Regions from separate parts of the Homo sapiens genome. Here regions 2, 3 and 4 are each linked to region 1. Evidence: promoter capture Hi-C in 16 types of primary human blood cells and fetal thymus (Javierre and others, 2016). All regions are on one chromosome and are shown on one strand. The core of a region is centred on a gene start or on the middle of the fragment in contact, and the rest is flanking DNA. Distances in the headings are between cores, read along the strand shown. Region 1 holds the start of RSPO2 (R-spondin 2). Region 2 has its middle 81 kb from the start of TMEM74. Region 3 has its middle 100 kb from the start of TMEM74. Region 4 has its middle 62 kb from the start of TMEM74.

Region 1 (2,700 bases), core at 7-2,506:
GAAACAGATCCACTGTTTCTGCAATGTGTTTTGTGAACTCTATTTGTGCCCTGTGGGCCAGTCTCAGTGATGGATTTTCTTATCTATGAAATGGGACCAATGACCTCAACTCAGATTTACTTGGGTGTTCTCAGGCATGCATCAAAGGCATACTGCTGAAATTCTTAGCACATAAATACCACTATGTAATAGTGAGTCTGTAAAATAGTTATGAATAGGCAATAATGGAATAGTTAATAAATATGAGTATTGCAATATTCTTTTTATATGATTGTCTTTTAAGTCATCAAATTTCTGAACATCTTCTGAAACTGAAGGAATAGAAAAGGGAATTTAAATAGTATAAAATGCTATCATAATAATATGGTAACTGCGGGCATATCTATAGACATTCATACTGCCACGGTTAGTGGCATAAATTCTTATCTTTTGCTTAAGGAATAAATACATTTTTTCCTACAGTAGTGAATGCAGGACAGATTTCACCAGAATGAAATTGGATGGCATCAAGTCTATTTAATGTAACACTTTGTTAAACAGAATATTTTCCCCAAACCCAAAGCACCTAAAAGTTTAATTCAGGAGACTTTGGAAATGAGAGGAGGATTAAGAATGAAAAATACTTTAGTGGGAAGTGAACTTTTTAAAATTATTTTTAAAGAATCAAGGCCCCAACTTCTTCAGCACTTCAGGCAACGGATCACAGGTTTTTGTTTTATTGGAGAAGAAACAAAGTAAATAACAGTTCTGAGGATGAACAAAAGCTGTTGGGAATACCCATTTCACTCCTCAAAGTGGGGGCGCGTTTTATGAATAATTTCAGCCGGCTAACATACCTTCCTGCAAAACACAGACAAGATGTAAATTAAAAAGTGGCAGAGTTGTGGCATATTGCAAAAGTTTAAAGGGAGTCATCAGTCCTTCAGTCAGATCTCCCTGCAGAAAGGTTGGCGCTGAGGTTGGAACTGACCCTAGAGGGCTGGAGAGGACCCCTTGGGGGTGAGCAGCCGGGTTCTGGGACCCAGCAAGGTCAGGGGGCGTCTCCCCAGCTACTCTTTATCTATCCCCCGCACTCTGGAAAGCCCGAAGAGGATTCGCTCCAAGTTAGGCGCGCTGTTGGCTGTCAACGTTCTTTAGGACCTCAGGGAAACCGGGACGTTTCTGGCTTTAGGACCCAGGAACTCCGAGGCAGCCTAGACTTAGATGCCTTGGACCACAGCACCACCTACTTATAGAAGCATCCCAAGCCTCAGCCGGTCTGCATCTCCATCGGAAAGTGCGCTTGCCACATCCCTTCGGATCACTTCGTCCTCCCGAGAGCGTTCTGCCTTCTACAGCTCGGAAAGAAAGAAATCTTAGCTGTGAAGTGACCGTGGAGAAAGCGCAGGAAGCGACACAATTGGTTAGGGAGGCAGAGAGTGTGAGCGGGCGCACCCCTTGCCTGGGGACCGCGCTCGCGGGCGGGGACGGAGCATCCCAGTGGCTGCACCCGCCGCTCCGCGCTCCTGCCTGGCGTCGCCAACCCCGCGGCGGCCGCTGGAATTCCAGAGCTGCCAGGCGCTCCCAGCCGGTCTCGGCAAACTTTTCCCCAGCCCACGTGCTAACCAAGCGGCTCGCTTCCCGAGCCCGGGATGGAGCACCGCGCCTAGGGAGGCCGCGCCGCCCGAGACGTGCGCACGGTAGGCAACCCACACCAAGGCAGCCGCAGCTGCGGCGCTTGGGTACACCGCCGTGGACTCCAAATGGCCTAAGAGCGTTCTTTTAGCCCTGCGCTCTCAGTGCCTTTAGAGTTCTTTCCTTTCCCCGGAGCGCCGGCACAACGCATTATGCCGCTGGGTCGGAGCTTAGGGCTCGGCAGAGGTTGCTAATTCACTGATTATAATCACCTTCCTCTCCAACTCGTCCGCAGCTGCCCGCTCTGGATTAAGCCGCTCCGCGGCTCGTGCTAGGCAGTGGGTTCGCTTCCTCCTTCCCTCTCTTCTTTAAATTGGGACGTGCGAAGGCGCAGCTGCCTCCCCGGGGCTCTCTCCATCCCCCACACACCCTGTTTTCGCTTCTTGTCTCTCAGGTTCGTGGCGGAGAGATGCTGATCGCGCTGAACTGACCGGTGCGGCCCGGGGGTGAGTGGCGAGTCTCCCTCTGAGTCCTCCCCAGCAGCGCGGCCGGCGCCGGCTCTTTGGGCGAACCCTCCAGTTCCTAGACTTTGAGAGGCGTCTCTCCCCCGCCCGACCGCCCAGATGCAGTTTCGCCTTTTCTCCTTTGCCCTCATCATTCTGAACTGCATGGATTACAGCCACTGCCAAGGCAACCGATGGAGACGCAGTAAGCGAGGTGGGTCCCTCTCTGCCAAAGGTGCGTGGTGGGCTTCAGGGGTGGCGTGTGGAGGCGCTCACTCACGCCCTGGCTCCGGGGGCTCAGATGGTCAGGGCTGTGCTCTCCACCCCAGCTTTTGCGGGTCCCCAGTCCCCACCTTTAGGACCCTGGAGCTCTACAAAACACTCTGTTTTCTGTACCCTGGAGGCGCGGGGAGCCGGAGCGAGACGCGCTGGGAGCTCGGCGAGCCGGGCGCCAATCGGGCGCTCAGGGCTAAGTCGTGCGGTCCGCACTCATGTTCGCCGCCCCACCTCCTCATCTAAACTTGTCTCTTTAGGACGTATTTCTTATCTGACATGCATTTTTTTTTTGTCGTCGTTGTTCTTC
Region 2 (2,700 bases), core at 201-2,700, 620 kb before region 1:
ATGTGTACATCATAGGCTTTAAAACCACATTATGGCCTATTAAAGACATGAGAGATCATGTAAACTTTAAAACAACTGCTAAAATTTTGGCGTGTTTGGTTTTTTAGAATGTGATTTCCACCATGATTTGGCCAATCCAAGTAATTTGGAAGATTTCTTTGGAAAGGGTGGGGATAAGGGATTTTTTTTTTTTATAGTTTAAGTTCTAGGGTACATGTGCACAACATGCAGGTTTGTTACATAGGTGTACATGTGCCATGTTGGTTTGCTGCACCCATTAACTCATCATTTACATTAGGTATTTTTCCTAATGCTATCCCTCCCCCTACCCCCCACCCCCCGACAGGCCCCGGTGTGTGATGTTCCCCGCCCTGTGTCCAAGTGTTCTCATTGTTCAGTTCCCACCTATGAGTGAGAACATGCGGTGTTTGGTTTTCTGTCCTTGTGATTGTTTGCTCAGAATGATGGTTTCCAGCTTCATCCGTGTCCCTGCAAAGGACATGAACTTGGGATGAGGGATTAAGTAAAGAGTATGAGGTACATGAGAAGGTAATACTTCAAGGCGGGAAAAGGAATGGCTGTCCAAAGCCTCTAGATCACTGTCATTCTCTATCCATCTACTGCCCCTGTGACTTTTTTATTTTGTACTTTTATCTTAGTGTCTTGGATATCACCAAAAATTTCAAATATTATTTTACATGCATGTGCTTGCATACACACACACACACACACACACACACACACACACCCCTTGTAATTCTAGAAGCTAATGTTAAACATAGGAGTTGGCTTGTCTGTCAGATTACTAAAGAGCAGAAACACTTGGAAAAAATATGGATAATCCTGTTTAAAGCTACTTATGAATAATGGAATGTAATAAACATCAGCTTTAAATAGAAGGATAATTATATAGAGAGATTTTTAAGTAATTTTCAAAAAGTAATAGGTCCAAAATAACCTATTAAGGGTCAATGATTCCCACCACCTTCAATGTGCAATTCAATTCAATAAACATTTACTGTACATTGACATTATTAAACCAAACCTCCAAGACTTAAAAGAGGTGATGAGCTATTTGTGTAGATATGCAGGGAAGAGCATTCCAGGTATTATAGATACATCATAAGTTCAAAGACCCTATGAGGAAGCATGCCTAGTATGTTTGAGTGTGTGTCATAGGTATAAAATCAGAGTACATCCTCCCATTTTGGTTTAAAGAATGAAAACTTAATTGCTTTACCACAGTAATTTGAATTTTTATAAATTAAATGGAACCATAAAACCTAAAACGTAGTTATTAGAAATATTTTTAAAACAGATACGTGTTGAGCTAATTCTTCTAGAAAAAAATAGCAAATATTTGGGATGCAATGCAATGCAAAAGAAAGATGAGACTGTGCTTAGCTGTGCCTCTGGTGTGCTTAGTAGATCAATGGTGGCTCTCAGCACCTGCGGCCATTGGCTGCCAACACAGTCCTCTGCCTACAGCCACCTGTTAATTTAGGCAACAGGATTCAGAATTCTCTGAAGTGGCTGGGGCTCTGCTGTTTGGAATTTTGATAGCAAAAGAATCCTTCCAAGAAATCAGAGTTGCTGTACTCCACAGAACATGAACATCCTCAGGCCATCCTGAATGACATTTGCAGCAGGTGTCTAATTAGAAACTGTAAGTTCTCTTGTGAGCATCTCTAATGAGAGTATCTGTGATTGTTGATACAACACTCTCACTGAACTCCTTCTTCCAAATATGGAGCATTAGATTTGGTATAATACAACTCATGTGTGTTATGTATATACTTTTTTTTTCATAAGACTCCTGCAGCCACCTTGTAAGGTACATAAAAGATGTACGAGCTCCATTTTACTGTTAAGATTTCTGGCCAGGGCATCTACATCTGCTTGAGGAGGTTATTCATTACAGAAAGAGACACAACTAAGGAGTAAGAGAAGGCTGAGATCCATCCCACATTCTGTTCATCAAGCCTAGTGCCAGCTGGGCTACACCCACAAAGACAGGGGAGCCTTTTCCTAATTTGTATATAAGAACCATATGGGCTAGAGGTAGCCCTGTGTCTGAGACTTGGGATTAAATGACTTGCCCAAGATCCATCCAGGAATTAACAACTCCTTTTTCTCTCCTAATCACATTTCTCTGAATTAAATCTGCATTCCACTACAACACACTAAAACAGACTTCAAGGCGTTGTTAACACAGATAAATAACCTTCCTTCTCAGAACATTTTGCAAGCATCAAGTTCGTTGACTTCCATCACACTTTTAGGTCTTTTTCCAGTTTTATGTTGTCTTTTTCTTTATTAGACACCCTATAGAGTCTGCTAATCACAAGCTGACACAGATACTCAGTAAAGAAAAGGGTTTTACAAACCGTGGGACTAATTTGGGCTGTATAAATATGTTAATATCAATTACAGAAGTAGATGAAAAGAAAATTCGATGCTATCATGATTTTACTAAAAGTGATGTTTCTAAGTGATTTGACATGTAAAATTTGCCCTCATACATTATATCGGATGTTTATATCCTTGAATTTCAGTGATCACTAAGCAGATATTTTTCACTTTGAGATTTACAAATCTCTGAGGCCTCTCAAGGGTTAAAGCATGGAACAGGCATGTTAGAAAACTTTGCTGACAGTTTGACACTTGTACTCCCCTTTATTTTACACATAATCCTCAGAC
Region 3 (2,700 bases), core at 34-2,533, 600 kb before region 1:
ATGGTGTTGAGGAAGTCCTAGCCAGAATAGTTAGTCAAGAGAAAGAAATAAAGGGCATCCAAATTAGAAAAGAGAAAGTCAAATTATTCCTGTTTGCAGATGACTGATCTTACATATAGAAAAACTTAAATATTCTACCAAAACTTATTAGAATGGGTAAATAAACAAATTCAGTAAAGTTGCAGGATACAGAATTAACATACAAAAATCAGTAGTGTTTCCATACACGAATAATAAAGTAACTGAAAAAGAAATCAAGAAGGTAATCTCATTTACAATAGCTATGAAAAAACAAACAAAATACCTGGGAATAAGTTTAATCAAGGAAGTGAAAAATCTCTACAAGAAAAACTACAAAACACTCATCAAAGAAATGGGAGAGTATACAAACAAATAGAAAGACATCCCATGCTCATTAATTGGAAGAATTAATATTGTTAAAATGACAATACTACCTAAAGTAATCTGCAGATTCAATGTAATCCCTATCAAAATACCAATGACATTCTTCACAGACATAGAAAAAACTCCTAAAATTTTCATGAAACCATAAAAGACCCTGAATAGACAAAGCAATCTTGAGCAAAAAGAACAAAGCTGGAGGTATTCCACACCTAGATCGTAAAATATACTACAAAGCTGTAGTAACCATAACAGCATGGTACTGGCATAAATGACTAAAACTAGAATGAATTTAGAACCCCCCGCCTCTCACCTATACAAAAATCAACTCAAAATGGATCAAAGATACAATATAAGACCCAAAATGATAAAAAAAAAAAACTATTAGAAAAACATAGGGTAAATGCTTCAAGATATTGGTCTGGGAAAAGCTTTTATGAATAAGACCTTAAAAGCACAGGCCACAAAAGCAAAAATAAACAAATGGGATTATATCAAACTAAAAAGCTTCTGCACAACAAAGGAAACAGTCAGCAGAGTGAAACAATAACCTACAGACTGGGAGTAAACTACTTATCTGACAGGGCATTAATATCCAGAATATGCAAAGAACTCAAACATCTCAAAAGGAAAAAAAAAATGGGCAAAAAATCTGAAGAGATATTTCTCAAAAGAAGACATATAAATGGGTTCAAATCCATGAAAAAATGTTCAAGATCACTAATCATCAGAGAAATGCAAATCAAAACCACAATGAGGTACCATCTCACCCCACTTAGGATGGCTATTATCAGAAAAACAAAAAATATCAAATGCTGGCAAGGATGCAAAGGAAAGAGAATTCCTCTACACTGTTGGTGGGAATATAAGCTAGTGCAGCCACTATAAGGACCAGTATGAAGGTTCCTCAAGAAACTACAATTGGGACTACCATATGATCCAGCAACCCCATTGTTGGTAATTTATCCAAAGCAAAGGAAATCATTAAATTGAAGAAACATCTGCAGCCCATGTTTATCACAGTCATATTCACAATATCCAAGATATGGAATCAATCTAAGTGTCCAACAACAGGTGAATGGATAAATAAAATGTGGTGTATATATACACAATGGAATACTATTCAGACATAAAAAAGAATGAAATTCTGTCACTTGCAGCAGCATGGATGGAACTGAGATACATCATGTTAAGTGAAATAAACCAGCAAACGAAAGTTAAACATTGCATGTTCTCACTATATATGGAAGCTTAAAAAGTTGATATCATAGAAGTAAAGAGTAGAATAGAGGATACCAGAGACTGGGAAGGGTAGAGGGAGAATATGATAAATGTTTAATCATAATAAATGAGAAATTACAAAGAAATAAATGTTTGAGATGATGGATAGACTAATTTATCCTGGTCTGATCACTATACATTACATGTATCGAAATATCACTATGTACCCCATGAATATGTACAATGTTTATTTGGCAATTTAAAACAATACAATTTTTAAAAGAATGGATTGATTCATGAGTAATACCATTTTGTAATAACATAATTGTATAATGGTCTCTAATTTGTTAATTTAGTAAATTATATTAATAAATTTCCGAATGCTACATCATTCTTACACTTCTAGAATAAAACTTGTTTGATCATTTACATTATTGTCTGAAAAAAATGCTAATTTTAACTTGTAAATATTTAACTTATTTGTAATTATGTTTATAAATGATACTGAACTATAGTTTCCTCTTATTTTTTCTTTTATTTTCTGTTTTTTAACAGGATTATGCAGCTCAATTGAATTAATTTTAAAGTTTTTCAACACTTTTAATGCTTCAGAAAGTTTAACAGAGTAATTATCTGTTCCTTAAAGGTTGAATAGAACTGGCTTATAAATCATTTTGAGCTGATGTCGTTTATAAGAATAGACCTTCAGTATGGTTATTTATATATTCCACTTTTACCTCTTTCTGAGTCATTTAAAGTAATTTATACCTTCTTAGATAATCCTGCATTTGTTTTTTATTATTATTTTTGGCAAGTTATTTTTACCATCTGTCAAAATTTCTTTAATTCCATCCTTAGCTATATCTTTTTTCTTGCTTCATTTTCTTCAGTCTTTTCTTTATTCCTTAATACACTTACTAAAGAAAACAAAGGCTAACTTCTCATTTTATTGATTAAATCTGCTATAGATTGTATTTCATTATTATTAATATCCACTTATTTCTTTATTGAGTCAAACTCCAATTTCAGCAGGAGTTGGTCCATAGTGTGTGCTTAACTGAAAGATTTTAAGAGCCA
Region 4 (2,700 bases), core at 177-2,676, 640 kb before region 1:
GTTGTTGAATGAATGAATAAAATGTATGTTCAAAACTAATAGAGTTTGTTTACTGATGAATCCCTCAGATGCTTTAATATACTGATAAGATTCGTGAATCTCCCAAACAGGTGCAATGTTTTTACACTTATTTGATCACCAAACTCATTTGTTACACCGTACCTATTAACGTCTTATAAAACTGGCATTCCACAATTTCAAAAATGCTATATCAAATCATTCTTTAGTTTCTTCTATCTACAAAATGTATCATTTCACCAGGAAATATTTTGCAATCTTAAATTGCTTGTAGGGCGTTGTTAGTGCTATTTGACAATTGATTTACTATACTTTAAAAGAGGTCATGTGCTTTCCAAGTGACACATAAACTCATCAGGCAGAATTTTGCAGTAGATGAATTTTACCTTACCTGGACTCATTTATATGCTTTCCTCCTGCTTTCAATGCATTCTACAACATTCCCATTAGGTATAGAGGTTTTAGACTGGTTAGAGACCTTAGAGATGATGATATATAGTCTTACCATTTTAAGAATGAAGAAAACTAAGCAGAAAAGGGATTTTACCCCGGGTCTCACTAGTTGAGCCACAAGAAGCAGGCCCAATCAATATGGCCCGAAATGTCCATAATAAATCTGATAGTATATTGTGTATTACAATCCTTATTTACCCAGGTGCATTCTTCACCTAAGTTCTCACATGGTATACAAAAATTCTTTTCTGATCCCTTCCTTCATAAATATCCAACAATCTCACCCTGATTATGGCAATAATTACATATTAGTACTTCCTACAAAATGTTACATTATCCTTTGAGTAATTTATAGCACCTTAGATGTGAAAAATAAATCTCAAATTTCTGCAATAACACATATCCTGATTAATTAATATAATCTTTGCCCCTATAACATGTTTAAAGACATATTGCTTTCATTTTAGAAATAAAAACAGAAAGCTTCTCTTGACCCTACTTTCCTCTCATCTTTTCTTTCATTTCATTTTCAGCTAATCTCCTTGAGCAAGTTCCTATATTCTCTACATCTCCTTGATTCTAGCAGAAACTACATACCTGTCTTAGGATAGCTGAGTATTTTCACCATTTACATCTCAAGATGCATATACTTTCTATTAGTCTAATTTTCTAAACATTTAAGAGAACATAGCTGAGTATGTTCTTATCCCCAATGCCCAAAGAAATAATTTAAAAGAATATTAGGGGGAAGAAAACTAAAAAGAATGAGTAGTTGTGTTTCCTGTGGTGTATTTACCCATTCATTTGTTTAAGAAGTGGTTTTGAGCCCCTATTTTCCTTTTAGGGGTTCTGAGACACAGAGATGAACAAGGCATCTCTTATTAGGAATTATAACTTTCAGTGGAGAGAAACACAAAGATAAACAAATAGCAAGAAAAGTTTTGGTAGTGCTAAGAGCTATCATAAAGACAAAACAAGATGACATTCTTGAAAGATTTGAGGAACTATCTGGATTAGGCAACCAGAGAAGGTTAAGGAAGTGTCTTTAATGAGCGATCCAAATGGCAAGGTGGGGCAAGTCTTCTAAAGAGGTGAGGGAAAAACATTCCAGGGGAGATGGCTCGAAGTGGGCCTAAACATGGTGTCTTGAACTAAGAGAAGAAAGGAGAGTTTGGCTGTAGCTTGTGAATGAAGCAGAACACAGTGAGAAATGCCCAGGCTGGTTGGCAGAGGCCAGACTGTGCAGGGCCTAGAGGCTGAAGAAAAGAGGTTGTGTTTTATTCTAAGAGGATTGGGAAGCCATCAGAGAGTCCTAAGCAGGTAAATTATATGGTCTGATATCTTCCTTAAATAAGTCAAATCACTCTAGCTTCTGCATGGAGACTGACGCAGAAGCTAATAAATAAAGGAGATGGGAGGAAGCTTCAGCCATTGGAGTCTGCCCAGTGCACCCCAAAATATACCATGAAAGTGCACTTTCTCTCTGTACCTAAGATTTCCCTGGATATGCATAGTGAGGTGCTTTAGTCTAGGTATAAGCAATTTTAACTTGTTCTGCTTTTGCCTAAAATATCAATAAACTCATTTTAATAAATGAACTTGCTTATAATGAACATAATAATGAATCACTTTTTATTTCTGAAAGAAGGAAAAAATTTAATCATCTCTTAATTTTGTATATGTTGTTCTTTATGTACTTTAATTACCACCATTATCATCACTGGCATCATCCCACAGACTCAAAAATGATCATGGATACATCTGTATGGCACCATCTGTATCTAGCCATACAAAATCCAACTTGATTTCATAACATTTATGTAATAGCTATGATGTTCTGCACTCTGGGAGGTTCTGTTGATACTCAATTAAATAAGGGGACTGTCACTGTTCACACAAAATAAAGAGTTCAGTCATGAAGACAAGCCTATAAACCAGTAACTGGAATAGAATATGTGTTTTGGGAAACATGATGATGAAATAAATAGATTTACATGAAGTGCAGGAGGAGGGGGAAGATTGGGAAGGATTATTGAGAAAATAGGATAATTGAACTCTGCCAGCCTAAGTGGAGGTTTGGCAGCAAACAAGGGTGGAGACAGAGGAATCTTTACTAGAAGCAATCATCAAGCAAATAATGAAGACCTCGAAAGTACAGGGTGTGTGAAGGAAACAGCAAAGTTGGACTGTGGGGCTCAAACTCAGGATCATGCCTCATCATGTTAAAGA

Evidence for each region. Contacts are between HindIII fragments. The CHiCAGO score rates a contact against its expected background, and 5 or more counts as called.
Region 2: a fragment that was not itself captured here is called in contact with the fragment with the promoter of RSPO2 in region 1 in 3 of 17 cell types (M0 macrophages, megakaryocytes and M2 macrophages); the score reaches 8.1 in M0 macrophages.
Region 3: a contact is called between a fragment that was not itself captured here and the fragment with the promoter of RSPO2 in region 1, in 2 of 17 cell types (endothelial precursors and M2 macrophages). The highest score is 6.6, in endothelial precursors.
Region 4: a contact is called between a fragment that was not itself captured here and the fragment with the promoter of RSPO2 in region 1, in 2 of 17 cell types (M2 macrophages and M0 macrophages). The highest score is 5.4, in M2 macrophages.

What each region holds. Positions count from the first base shown.
Region 1 is chr8:108,082,176-108,084,875 of GRCh38, reverse strand. It overlaps RSPO2 (R-spondin 2), which reads left to right and starts at 1,256. Exons shown (of 6, transcript NM_178565.5): 1 at 1,256-1,679; 2 at 2,069-2,331. The coding sequence starts at 2,238. RefSeq lists a silencer at 2,225-2,400 and an enhancer at 2,117-2,700. The HindIII fragment of the contact is 4,613 bases long and covers 1-2,700 here.
Region 2 is chr8:108,704,825-108,707,524 of GRCh38, reverse strand. It overlaps a transcript of TMEM74 not described here. Among named protein-coding and RNA genes, the nearest start is that of TMEM74, 81 kb to the left of the region's middle. The HindIII fragment of the contact is 8,157 bases long and covers 1-2,700 here.
Region 3 is chr8:108,682,777-108,685,476 of GRCh38, reverse strand. It overlaps a transcript of TMEM74 not described here. Among named protein-coding and RNA genes, the nearest start is that of TMEM74, 100 kb to the left of the region's middle. The HindIII fragment of the contact is 743 bases long and covers 912-1,654 here.
Region 4 is chr8:108,723,986-108,726,685 of GRCh38, reverse strand. It overlaps a transcript of TMEM74 not described here. Among named protein-coding and RNA genes, the nearest start is that of TMEM74, 62 kb to the left of the region's middle. The HindIII fragment of the contact is 939 bases long and covers 957-1,895 here.